Regions from separate parts of the Homo sapiens genome. Here region 2 is linked to region 1. The links are contacts of gene promoters, found by promoter capture Hi-C in blood cells and fetal thymus (Javierre and others, 2016). All regions are on one chromosome and are shown on one strand. The core of a region is centred on a gene start or on the middle of the fragment in contact, and the rest is flanking DNA. Distances in the headings are between cores, read along the strand shown. Region 1 holds the start of LINC00957 (long intergenic non-protein coding RNA 957). Region 2 overlaps DDX56 (DEAD-box helicase 56).

Region 1 (5,957 bases), core at 876-3,375:
CGGTGCAAGGGCGGCTGCCGGGAGAAGGTGGGCAGCTGGAGTGGGACTGGGGGAGACAGGATCAATGTGACCTGCGGTGGTCCCCAGGTGGCCGGGATGCAGTACCTGCACGGCGTCCTGGGCCCCATCATCAACAAGGTGTTTGAGGAGAAGTACGTGGAGCTGGACCCCAGCAAAGTGGAAGTTAAGGATGTAGGGTGAGGCCGGGGGTAACTCCGGGGGGGTGCGGGGCGCAGCGGCAGCGGGTTGGGATCAGGCCCTGTCAGCATGTGTGTTTGTGCTTCTGCCCACCCGTGTATTGTCCCCTGTGTCCGTGTCCCGGCTGCTGTGAGAGCCACTGTTCCTGTCGTGGCCCTGGCGCTGACCGTGACCTCCTCTGCCAACCCGCCCCGTTCCACGCAGGTGTTCCGGGCTGCACCGCCCGCAGACCGAGGCCGAGGTGCTGGAGCAGAGCGCGCAGACGCTGCGCGCCCACCTGGGGGCCCTGCTGAGCGCGCTCAGCCGCTCGGTTCCCGCGTGCCCCGCCGTGGTGCGCGCCACCTTCCGCCAGCTCTTCCGGCGCGTGCGCGAGCGCTTCCCCGGCGCCCAGCACGAGGTGCGCCCTCCACCCGCTGGGCTAGGCTGGGCCGGGTTGGACTGGGCTGGGGCGAGGGGCGGGCGAAGAGCGGTGGGGAACCAGGGAGCGCTGGGGAGGACCAGGGAGGCTGTGTCCCGGCGAGGGTCAGGGACGGAGCCTAAGGGGAGGGGGCTGCCAGGAGCCCTGGTCTGGGGGACTCCAGCCCGCGCTCTTCCGCACCCCTCCAGAATGTACCGTTCATCGCCGTCACCAGCTTCCTGTGCCTGCGCTTCTTCTCTCCCGCCATCATGTCGCCCAAGCTCTTCCACCTGCGGGAGCGCCACGCGGACGCCCGCACCAGCCGCACCCTGCTCCTGTTGGCCAAGGTGCGGGCCTTGCGGCCACGGGCGGGATGCACAGCTGGGTGTCCTACCGGGGCCCTGGCCTGGACTGCAGAGTGTTCCCTACCGGCTCCGGCGAGGCCACTGGCACGCCCACGTAGGCACTGCACTTCACAGTTTGCAAAGCCTTCCTGTGGCCACCTTGTCCGAGTTCCATCTCATGGATAAGGGAACAGGCCTGCGAGGGGTCGGGGGTTGCCAAGGCCGCCCATCCTGTCGGTGGTGAATCGCGGGACCTTCCAACCCAGGTCTGCTTACTCTCAGGCTGCACCTATGTGCCCGGCACCGGGGTGGGGTATCCAGTGCAGCAGCGTCAGTTAAACCTACAGAGGAAGGCCCAAGTGGTCTCAGTTATCATAAGGCATCAAACTTCATGATCCTCTCCTCCCTGATCCCTAGTGGGGCTGGAGGGGGCCCGTGGGCATGGCCTCTGTCGCCTCTGCCTCCATCGCTACAGCTGAGTAGCAAAGACTTGGGGAGGGGGGGTGGGAGGGGGTGCAGTGGCTAGGCCCCTAACCTAGCAGAACCTGGTCCTTCCTGCTGTCACCTCCAGGCAGTCCAGAACGTGGGCAACATGGACACGCCGGCTTCCAGGGCCAAGGAGGCTTGGATGGAGCCGCTGCAGCCCACCGTGCGCCAGGGCGTGGCGCAGCTGAAGGACTTCATCACCAAGCTCGTGGACATCGAGGAGAAGGACGGTGAGCGCCGCCCTGCACAGACCCGCCCACAGCCTACTGCTGACGTTTGCTCCGCCCTTGAGCCCCACGGCCCCACCCACCGCTGTTTGTTCCTCTCGTGGCCCCACCCACCGCCTGCTGTTGACATTTGCCAGGCCCCCAGGCCATAGACCCACGCACCACTGTTTGTGCTTCCTGTGACCCTGCCCACTGCCTGCTGTTGACGTTTGCCCCACCCCTAGACCCATGGCCTCACCTCCCATCATCTGTGCCTGTTGACATTTGCTCCATCCTTGAGCTCCATAGCCCCGCCGCCACCTGCTACTGACGCGTGTCCCGCCTCCAAGCCCATGGCCCTGCCTTCCTCAGTCCACCTGTCACCCCGCTCACCACCAGCTGTTGATGTTTGCTCCGCCCTTGAGCCCCATGACTACGTCCACTGCCTGCTGTTCAGATTTGCTCAGCCCTTGAGCCCCATGGCCCCGCCCACTGCTCCGCCCCCCCCCCCCAGTCCCGCCCTCATTCCCTGGGCTCTCTATTCCCCTCCCTCCCTGGCCTGGCAGAGCTGGACCTGCAGCGGACGCTGAGTTTGCAGGCGCCACCTGTGAAGGAGGGGCCACTCTTCATCCACAGGACCAAGGGCAAGGGCCCCCTCATGTCCTCCTCCTTCAAGAAGCTCTACTTCTCCCTCACTACCGAGGCCCTCAGCTTCGCGAAGACGCCCAGCTCCAAGGTGGGTAAGGAGGGAGGCCGGCAAGTGGGGCTCTGAGAGGCCGGCAAGTGGGGCACCTTAGAGGCACCTGTCCCCTTCCTTGGAGCCCACTTGAGGTACCCCCGGGGTCAGAGAAGAAAGCCAGGTGTGTGGCATCTGTACTGCTTGTCAGAACCTAGGAGGGCCGGGCACGGTGGCTCACGCCTGTAATCCCAGGACTTTGGGAGGCCAAGGCGGGTGGATCACTTGAGGTTAGGAGTTTGAGACCAGCCTGGCCAACATGGAGAAACCCCGTCTCTACTAAAAATACAAAAAATCAGCCGGGTGTGGTGGTGGGTGCCTGTAGTCCCAGCTACTCGGGAGCCTGAGGCACGGGAATCGCTTGAACCCGGGAGGCAGAAGTTGCAGTGAGCCGAGATCGTGCCACTGCACTCCAACCTGGGCAACAGAGCAAGACTCCGTCTCAAAAAAAAAAATGAATATGGAGGAAGTTGATCCGACCTTACCAGGTTGTTGAGGATTAAATGAGATGATCTCCCTAAGGGTCCTGACCCAGGGCCTGGCAGGTAGTACTATTTAGGCAAATGGTATTATTAAAGATAGTACATCACCTGGGCTGCTAGATGAGTAGGAGGCTAGGGCAAACAGGGGAGGCTTCCTGGAACGGGCAGGAATATAGAAGCATGGAATCTTGGTGTGGGAGGGGATCTCAAAGATCACCTTGTACAGCCCTCTCTGAGTCATGGGTCACCTCTCCTGCAAGCTCTCTTCTCCCAGGAAGGGCTGAGGACATACTTCCTCCATGGACCTGGTGACTGCTTGCTGTACACCTGCCCCTAGTCATGCAGGCTATGGGGATGATCTTCCAGGAGTACCCAGCCTAGCCCTGGGCAGGTGAGAGCAGGCTAGGAGTAGGTGAAGGAGCTCATCACCCACCCTGTTCTCAACCAGCTCAGGGGTCCCACCAGATGAGGGGCCCGCCCCTTCCGACCAAAGACCCCTCAGATGATGATAATTATTTTTTGAGACAGGGTCTTGCTCTGTCACCCAGACTGTAGTGCAGTGGTGCGATCATAGCTGACTGCAGCCTCAAACTCCTGGGCTCAAGCAATCTTCCTGCCTCAGCCTCCTGAGTAGCTGGGACTACAGGCACGTGCCACCAAGCCCAGCTAATTTTCTTTAACATTTTTTTTTTGCAGAGATGGGGTCTTGCTATGCTGCCCAGGCTGTTCTCAAACTCCTGGCCTCAGGCAATCCTCCTGCCCCAGCCTCCCAAAGCACTCAGATGATTATTATACATCTTCCTTGCCAGGGTTGAAAGATTTGACTACATGGGCATTATTTAATTCTGGTCCCATTTTTTTTTTTTTTTTTGAGATGGAGTTTCACTTTTGTTGCCCCGGCCAGAGTGCAATGGTGCGATCTTGGCTCACCGCAACCTCCGCCTCCCGGGTTCAAGCGATTCTCCTGCCTCAGCCTCCCAAGTAGCTGGGATTACAGGCATGCACCACCATGCCCGGCTAATTTTGTATTTTTAGTAGACACGGAGTTTCTCCATGTTTGTCAGGCTGGTCTCGAACTCCCAACCTCAGGTGATCCGCCTTCCTCGGCCTCCCAAAATGCTGGGATTACATGTGTGAGCCACTGCGCCCGGTCAGGATATGACTGTTAGAGCTTGGGACTACAAAAGCAAGTTGGAAAATTAATAAATGCAAAGTCACAAAGCCTTGGCCACGGCTGGATTGACTTTGTAGCCCAGGGAATGCTGGCTGTCCAGACACTACCCCAAAGCTCACACCTCCGAGGCCTTCTGGGAGTGCCCCCCAGAGAGGCCAGGTCCTCCTCTCCCAGTTGCTGGGCACTTGGTCACCATCAGTCTGTGCTCTGCCCTGGCTGAGGTCACTCTGGGTCTCCCACGCCTACCCCTGGTGCTGCAGAAGGGGAGACTGAGGCCCAGAGATGGGGAATGGAATGCCCCTGGCTAGGTCCCTGAGCCTCCTCCTCCCTGACTGCCCCAGAAAAGCGCCCTCATCAAGTTAGCCAACATCCGGGCAGCAGAAAAGGTTGAGGAAAAGAACTTTGGCAGCTCGCACGTCATGCAGGTCATCTACACGGACGACGCCGGCAGGCCCCAGACTGCCTACCTGCAGTGCAAGGTGCGGGGAGGGGAGCGGGTGCTGTGGGAGTGGCCTGAACACTGTGGGAGTGGCTTGGGTGCTGTGGGAGTGGCCTGGGTACTGTGGGAGTGGCATGAGCCCTGTGGGAGTGGCCTGAGCTCTATGGGAGTGGCCTGGGTGCTGTGGGAGTGCCCTGGATGCTATGGGAATGCCCTGGGTGCTGTGGGAATGGCCTGGGTGCTATGGGAGTGGCCTGAGCTCTGTGGGAGTGGCCTGGGTGCTGTGGGAGGGGCCTGAGTGGACTGGATGAGAAAAGAGTTGATTGAGCCTCTCGCCCCGCTACCAGCTACATCAGGCACCGCAGGGTGTGTCTAATCTGGGAGGTGTCAGGGACAGGTGTGTGTGTGTTGTCCAGGGGCCTGAGCCCCCAGGAGGCCATGGCCCATGTCTTTCCCTGGGCATCCATGTGTAGGTCTGTGTGTGGGCCAGTGCACAGACAGGTGCATCCCCGTGATGTGAAATTTGCACGTTGCACCCGTTTGTTGGAAACTATTTCCAGATAACTGAGATGGGGGCCAGGCACGCTGGTTCACGCGGATAATCCCAGCATTCTAGCCGGGGCAACAGAGCAAGACCCTTTCTCTAAAAAAGAAAGTCTGAGCTGGCACCTGTGTGGTTCTGTGTCTGTATCAATGCCTAATAATCAAACATTATGCTCTGTGTGGCTCTGGGTGCATGTTCTCAAGTAACCTTCTCATCTGTTCCTTCATTAACTCATTCATTCATTTATTTAAAAAATACTTACTGAGCACCTCCTAGGTTCCAGGCATGATTCTAGGTGAGGGGATACAGTGACAGATGAGGCAGAGTCCTGCCCTCATGGAGCTGATATCCCAGGGAGAAGATGGGCCAATAAATACATGTTTCAAATGTCGGCTCATGCCTGTAGTCCCAGTACTTTGGGAGGCTGAGGTGGGAGGATCACTGGAGGCCAGGAGTTTGAGAACAGCCTGGCCAATGTAGCAAGACCCCATCTCTACAAAAAAAAAAGTAGCCAGCCATGATGGCATGCACCTGTGATTCCAGCTACTTGGGAGGCTGAGGCAGGAAGATAGCCTGAACCCAGGAGTTGGAGGCTGCAGTGAACTATGATCACACCACTGCACTCCAGCCTGGGCTACAGAGTGAGACCCTGTCTCTTAAAAAAAAAAAAAAAAGCAAATTGTGATAGTGACTTGAAGGGAACCAGAAGGGACTAAGGGAGCAAGGGAGGGAAGAGAGTGGGGTATAGCAGGGAGCGGTCTGTCCTATTAAGAGTGGTCAGGGAGAATACAAAAATTAGCTGGGCGTGGTGGCGTGTGCCTGTAGTCCCAGCTACTTGGGGGGCTGAGGCAGGAGAATCACTTGAACCTGAGAGGTGGAGGTTGCAGTGAGCTGAGATCGAGCCACTGCACTCCAGCCTGGTGACAGAGCAAGACTCCATCTCAAAATAAA
Region 2 (5,957 bases), core at 1,932-4,431, 530 kb before region 1:
ATAGGAGGTGTTTTTGGTAATGAGTATGTGTGACTTTTATGCCTAAAATGGATTGAAGGAGGAGAGTGGTGGAGAGGAGGCTGTGGGCAGCAAGTGCAGGACCCTTCCCAATGCCACAGGGTCTGCTCAGCCTGGACCTGCAGCCACCCAGCGGGTGTGGTGTTGCTGCTATGGAGGTGACAAAGGGTGGAGATGGAATGTTCCAGGGCAGGAAAAGCCTGGGCACTGGGAAAGGAAGGATCCAGAAGAGATGGGAACATGAAAATGCCAGAGAGAGCGGTGGGGGCCGGGTTCCCATGGGACAGTGAGCTGGAGGAGACCCCAGTCCAGGTCCTGGCCTGAGATGTGAGGAGGGGAGTTGGGAGGGTGGGTAGGGAGGGAGAAGGTAAGGCTAGAACTTTGGCCTCAGGAACCCAGTCTGCTCGTATAGCGGAGTCATTTGCCAAGGTGTGGCCAGGAGGTTTAGAAGGGCCAGGAGAAGGTGGAAAGGTGTCAGGATGTGGGATGTTTGACATTTGAAGGGGAGGGCCCAGGTGTGGTTGGCCTGGGGGAGTCCATGGGGTGGGCGAGGTGAAGATAGAGCCAAGATCAGGTGCAGCTGGGATGCGGGGCCCCCTGTATCGGTAGTAATGGGCCACAGGTGAAGAAACTACCTGTTGACTTTTATTTCAGCTGCATTTTCTTTCTTTAAGGATGTCTGTCTTTTTCTTTCTTGTTACATGTTTGTTGTAACAAATCTAAACAATATAGGAGAGTGATTTAAATAGTGGAAGTCTAAGGTGCTCACATTCTCCTGGCCCTGTGCAGATGTGGTAGTGAATAGATGTATGTCATAGGCTGCCAGTTGGGTCAGAATTGGAGAATTTGCTGCAGAATCAGCGGGAGGGCAGGGATGGGAGCAGTAGCGGTGAGCCCACTGCTCAGGCAAGCATCTCTTCCAGTTCCTCCTGCTCTCCGTGGCCTGGTGCGCCCTCACAAGAAGCGGAAGAAGCTGTCTTCCTCTTGTAGGAAGGCCAAGGTACGGCTCCTGGGGACTGCGGACAGCCCCAGGACTCCTCCCAACCTGCTCTTTTGTCATCACCAGAATGTGGAGGCGCCTTGCCCTAGGGAGGGGAAGAGAGGGTGCCCTAGGGAGGGGAAGAGGGGGCACCCTAGAACCGGGCCCCAAAAATCTGGTGTGGGATAGGGGTACTTTTGCAGCCGCCTGCAGGCCCTGCTTTTCTTTCCCCAGCTGCCTTTCCCCATTTCCTTATCTGCAGCACCTTCTGGTCGTGTTGGCCAGTTGCCGGCACGGCTCCCTTTGTGTCTTTCTCAGTTGGGTGGGTGGGTGGGTGGATTGTCTGTCGGCCTGATTCCCCCAACTAACCTGTGACTTTGCCTCCTTAGAGAGCAAAGTCCCAGAACCCACTGCGCAGCTTCAAGCACAAAGGAAAGAAATTCAGACCCACAGCCAAGCCCTCCTGAGGTTGTTGGGCCTCTCTGGAGCTGAGCACATTGTGGAGCACAGGCTTACACCCTTCGTGGACAGGCGAGGCTCTGGTGCTTACTGCACAGCCTGAACAGACAGTTCTGGGGCCGGCAGTGCTGGGCCCTTTAGCTCCTTGGCACTTCCAAGCTGGCATCTTGCCCCTTGACAACAGAATAAAAATTTTAGCTGCCCCAGTTTGTGCCTCCAGCATATGAAAAGGACTATTTGAATCCCCAAAACATCAGGAGTCGGGAAACTTCGGAAGACAGCTGTGCCTGGCTCTGTGGCTGCATGCAGTGCTTCACTTGGCCAGCAGAGGTCAGCTGTGCCGAGCTGCCCCAGCCATGAGAAGAGAAGCCTGCCCTTGCTGGCAGGTGGCTATGGCCGGCCCAGAGCCTTCCTGCCCAGCTCCTGCAGCCCTGCTGCCTGGGATCAGGCTGGGAGATGGGCCTTCCTGACCGCCAGCCTTCCTCTCCCCGAGCACACGCACATGTAGATTCGGGGGGAAGCTGCCTGCTCTTCCTTAGAGGAGCCGGGGCAGCTATCTGCTGGTCCCTTTCTGAACAACTGTTGATGTGTGAGCTGTGTCTGTGTGTTATGTGCATAAGCGGTGGTGTGACATACACACATGTGTACTGTCCCTTATGCCCTGGCCTGAGCTCTCCAGCTGCCTTCTCAGCCTGAAGGCTGGGCTTCTCTGCTGGCTTGGGGTCCTAGATTGCATGTCACCTGCTTACCAGGCGTCACAAGGCCATGCTGGGGGCATGAGGAGGTTGGGGCAGCAGGAGAGTGGGGAGAAACTAGGAGAGTGCCTGAGTATTTTAGAAAGAACCAAGTTTTTTCTCGGCAAAAGCTTATACAGAGACGAAGGAGTCTGTGTCTTTGGTCATGGTAGGACTGAAGCTAGCAGGACCCGAGATTTGGGGCCTCCATGATCCCTGCTCCTCTTCTGTTAACACCCAAGGATTTCCACGAAGCCAGTGTGTATGATGGGGGCAGGACAGTGGTACTTTCTGGGCAGGTGTGAACTAGAGCTGCTAAGGAGCTGCAGACGATATTCTTGCAGTTTGGTGGTTAGCAGTATTCAGAAGGACAAAGAGTTAATGGAACTGGAGATAAAGAGCAACCATTTGAGCATCTGCTGGGAGACATCTGTCAACTGCACAGACCCTATCAGTGGGCATCGCTGCCACCTCTTGGAAGACAAGACAGGGCAGAGAGTGCCTGCAGTGCTGAGGCCTGGTCCTTGCCCTAGGTTGGCCTTCCCACCTGGCTTCATGGAGTGCTGAGGCTGGTCCTGGGGACAGTGAGTGCTCTGGATGTTTTAGCCAAGCTGTGTTCTAAAGTGATGCACAGTCTGTCTCCACTATGTTTATCTCTCTGACCCTGTCACTTCCAAGCACACCCTACCAAGAGCTTGTATCCCAGAGCCACCCTGATGGAGAGGAGATTGGTTTCCCCAGTGATTTCCTTCTTTGGGGGGTGGGGTAGAGGAACATGGAGCCAGCCTTATGCTGTATTCGTGCCTGGGGATAGCAGGGTCTGGGCCCGGAGCAGAGGAGCTTGGGTAAAGATATGGAGGCTGTTTGTTCAAAGTGTACATTCCTTCCTCCTAACGGCATCCCTGGGGGAAGCTATTTCTATGTTTTAGGTGGGGAAGATGAGGCTTAGAAGTTGCCTGGTGAATGAGGTTCTTTGCAAGATTTGGGTTCTGGCCTGTCCACCCTGGTGGAGTAGCTGGTACCACGGGGGCTTTTGCTGTGGGGTTAGGCACCATGTGGGCGCTCTGGGGCCAGGGCATTGGAAAGAATGGGAGGATTGCTTGAGCCCAGAAGTTCGAGGCTGTATGATCACGCAACTGCACTCCATCCTGGGCAACATACTGAGACACTCTCTCTCTTTTTTTTTGAGACAGAGTCTCACTTTGTTGCCCAGGCTGGAGTGTGGTGGTGCAATCTCAGCTCACTGCAACCTCTGCCTCCTGGGTTCAAGCAATTCTTCCCGCCTCAACCTCCTGAGTAGCTGGGATTACAGGTGGCCGCCACCACGCCTGGCTAAGTTTTTTATATTTTTAGTAGAGACAGAGTTTCACCATGTTGGTCAGGCTGGTCTTGAACTTCTGACCTCAGGTGATCCACCCACCTCGGCCTCCCAAAGTGCTGGGATTACAGGCGTGAGCCACCATGCCTGGCCGTGAGACTCTATCTTTAAAAAATAAAGAACAGGAAGGTCCATCTTCGTGTCCTGAGACTACAGAGAGAAAGTAAGTATAAATGGCTCGTTCAACACCCCACCTGGGAGGCAGGTACCATGTGCCCATTTACGTGTGAACAAACAGGCACTCAGGGTTGGCCTCTTGGACTTAGTCTGGCCAAAGCCTGTGCCCTTTGCACAAATGTGCAAATCAGGACTGGGGCAGGCCTTGGATGAGGGTATGTGTGCTATGGGCAAATGAACCTAGGGCTGTCCAGGGCCAAACAGCACAGAGGGCATGTGGGCCTGGAAGGGAGGAAGGAGGTGTGGCACATGCTGCGTGGAAGCCTAAGGCTTCACTAAACAGCAGAGAAGCTTGGATGGTTTTCAGGCTGGTGACGCCCTGGGCTGAAGCAGGAAGGTCAGGAGAATGCAGTGGCCTCTCCACTCTGGGCTGGCACAGTTTTGCCCACATGTATACCTGAATGGGTGCCTGGCTGTGTGGACTGTGCTATGGTCTGGAATCAGATGGACAAGGCACAGTCTATGAGGCAAGGAGCAGAGATGGTCAGCCAATGCAGACTGCTCAATAGTCATGTTGGGAGTTCAGGGTACTGGAGGGCTATAAGGGGCCCTCACCCAGTTGGAGAGAATGCTGCCTTCCTTGAGAAAGTGAGGTTTATGCTGAGATGGGAAGGGTGGGAGGGAACAGCAATCCTAGCAGGGGAGACAGCATGTGCAAATTCCCTGGGGTGGGAGGGATCCCTGCACATTTGAGGGTGAAAAGACCAGAGGGTTGTTACCAAAATATGCAATGGGGGCTGAAAATTTGATTTTTTAAAAAAATGTAATAGTCACATATTAAAAATTCAAAGGATACAGAAGATGGAGGGTTTTTGAAAACAAGGGCATTCTTTTTTTTTTTCTTTCTTTTTTTTTTTTTTTTTTTTGAGATGGAGTCTTGTTCTGTCACCCAGGCTAGAGTGCAGTGGCGCCATCTCGGCCCAGTACAACCTCCGCCTCCTGGGTTCAAGCGATTCTCCCGCCTCAGCCTCCTGAGTAGCTGGGATTACAGGCACCCACCATCATGCCTGGCTAATTTTTGTATCTTTGTGGAGATGGGATTTCACCATGTTGGCCAGGATGAACTCCTGACCTCGGGTAATCCACCCGCCTCGGCCTCCCAAAGTTCTGGGATTACAGGCGTGAGCCACCACACCCGGCCAACAGCATTCTGATGATATAGCTGGTGATAGCAGATGGGAGGACAGTGGTGTGCCCAGAAACCTCTGGACCTGGAGCACAAAAGGCTCAGGGTGCATTCCCAGCCCAGCGGATTCTCTGCCTGCATCTGCTAAGGATGAATGACTCAGCTTTGGGGGAATTAGTTGTGAGACTTTGGACTTCAGGGGCGGGGCCCCAAGAGGCAATGGTGATAAAGTTGAATTTGAGCAGGGAAGGTGCCCCGTCAGCTGTCATCCTTTTCCCCAGGAACATCATTATGTAAGACTCCTGCCTTGTGGAACAGGCTGTGAGTTGCTGCTCTTCCATTCCTCACAGCCATGTTTACAAGGGTAAGGAAGGGAAGGAGTGGTTCATCATTGCAGAGAGGAAGGTGCCTTGGCCAAGCAGACCTGCTCTGTGCCAGGCATGACACTGGGCAAATGCACAGTATTTAGTTTATTTATCCTGAAATGCTTTCAGAACTCAATGCATCCAGTGTCTTGTTATCCCTCCAGCCTATCCGCAAACCTGCTGAGATGCAGTAGGTTTGGCGTAGAATGCACTGAGGGTATCTGTGGCAACAGTGGGCTAAAGAACAAGGCACATCAAGGGGGTCTTCCGACGAACACCCCAAGGGTTGCCTCCACCACGCAGCATCCTGCTGTGGCTCGCCTCAATGTCCCAGGTGCTCTGTGGGCACAGTGGCCAGGTCAGACCATGATGGCCACTTTCTGACTGTATGGTCTCATACAGGGAAGGCATGTCACTTTTCTTGGCCTTCTCTAGGTTCTCACCTGTAAGTGGGGGTAAAATGTCCCCTCCAAGGGTTCCTGTAGGGGCCGAAGTGGCTCAGGCACCTGGCACGCCTGTTGCAGCCCAGCTCTGTGCTAGCACCTCCCAATGCCTGTTGAATCCACCATTGCCTTCTGGGACGTGTCTCCATACTTCCACGAGAATACGTCTAGGGCACAGCCTGGGGTTCTGCATTTGAGTTCTCACCTCCGTCCCAGGTGAGCCCAAAGGTGCTGGTCTCTAGTCCACATTTGAGAGGCAAGGCTTTAATATCCACCAC

The links. Contacts are between HindIII fragments. The CHiCAGO score rates a contact against its expected background, and 5 or more counts as called.
Region 2: a contact is called between a fragment that was not itself captured here and the fragment with the promoter of LINC00957 in region 1, in 1 of 17 cell types (endothelial precursors). The highest score is 6.0, in endothelial precursors.

What each region holds. Positions count from the first base shown.
Region 1 is chr7:44,035,217-44,041,173 of GRCh38, reverse strand. It overlaps LINC00957 (long intergenic non-protein coding RNA 957), which reads right to left and starts at 2,125. Exons shown (of 3, transcript NR_072982.1): 1 at 2,025-2,125; 2 at 812-1,280. It also overlaps the pseudogene RASA4CP. RefSeq lists silencers at 550-659, 750-839 and an enhancer at 4,291-4,790. The HindIII fragment of the contact is 32,056 bases long and covers 1-5,957 here.
Region 2 is chr7:44,561,509-44,567,465 of GRCh38, reverse strand. DDX56 (DEAD-box helicase 56) reads left to right here. Exons shown (of 14, transcript NM_019082.4): 13 at 942-1,018; 14 at 1,387-1,662. The coding sequence ends at 1,464. Among named protein-coding and RNA genes, the nearest start is that of DDX56, 9.4 kb to the left of the region's middle. RefSeq lists enhancers at 1,303-1,802, 5,215-5,957 and a silencer at 1,656-1,867. The HindIII fragment of the contact is 1,715 bases long and covers 2,324-4,038 here.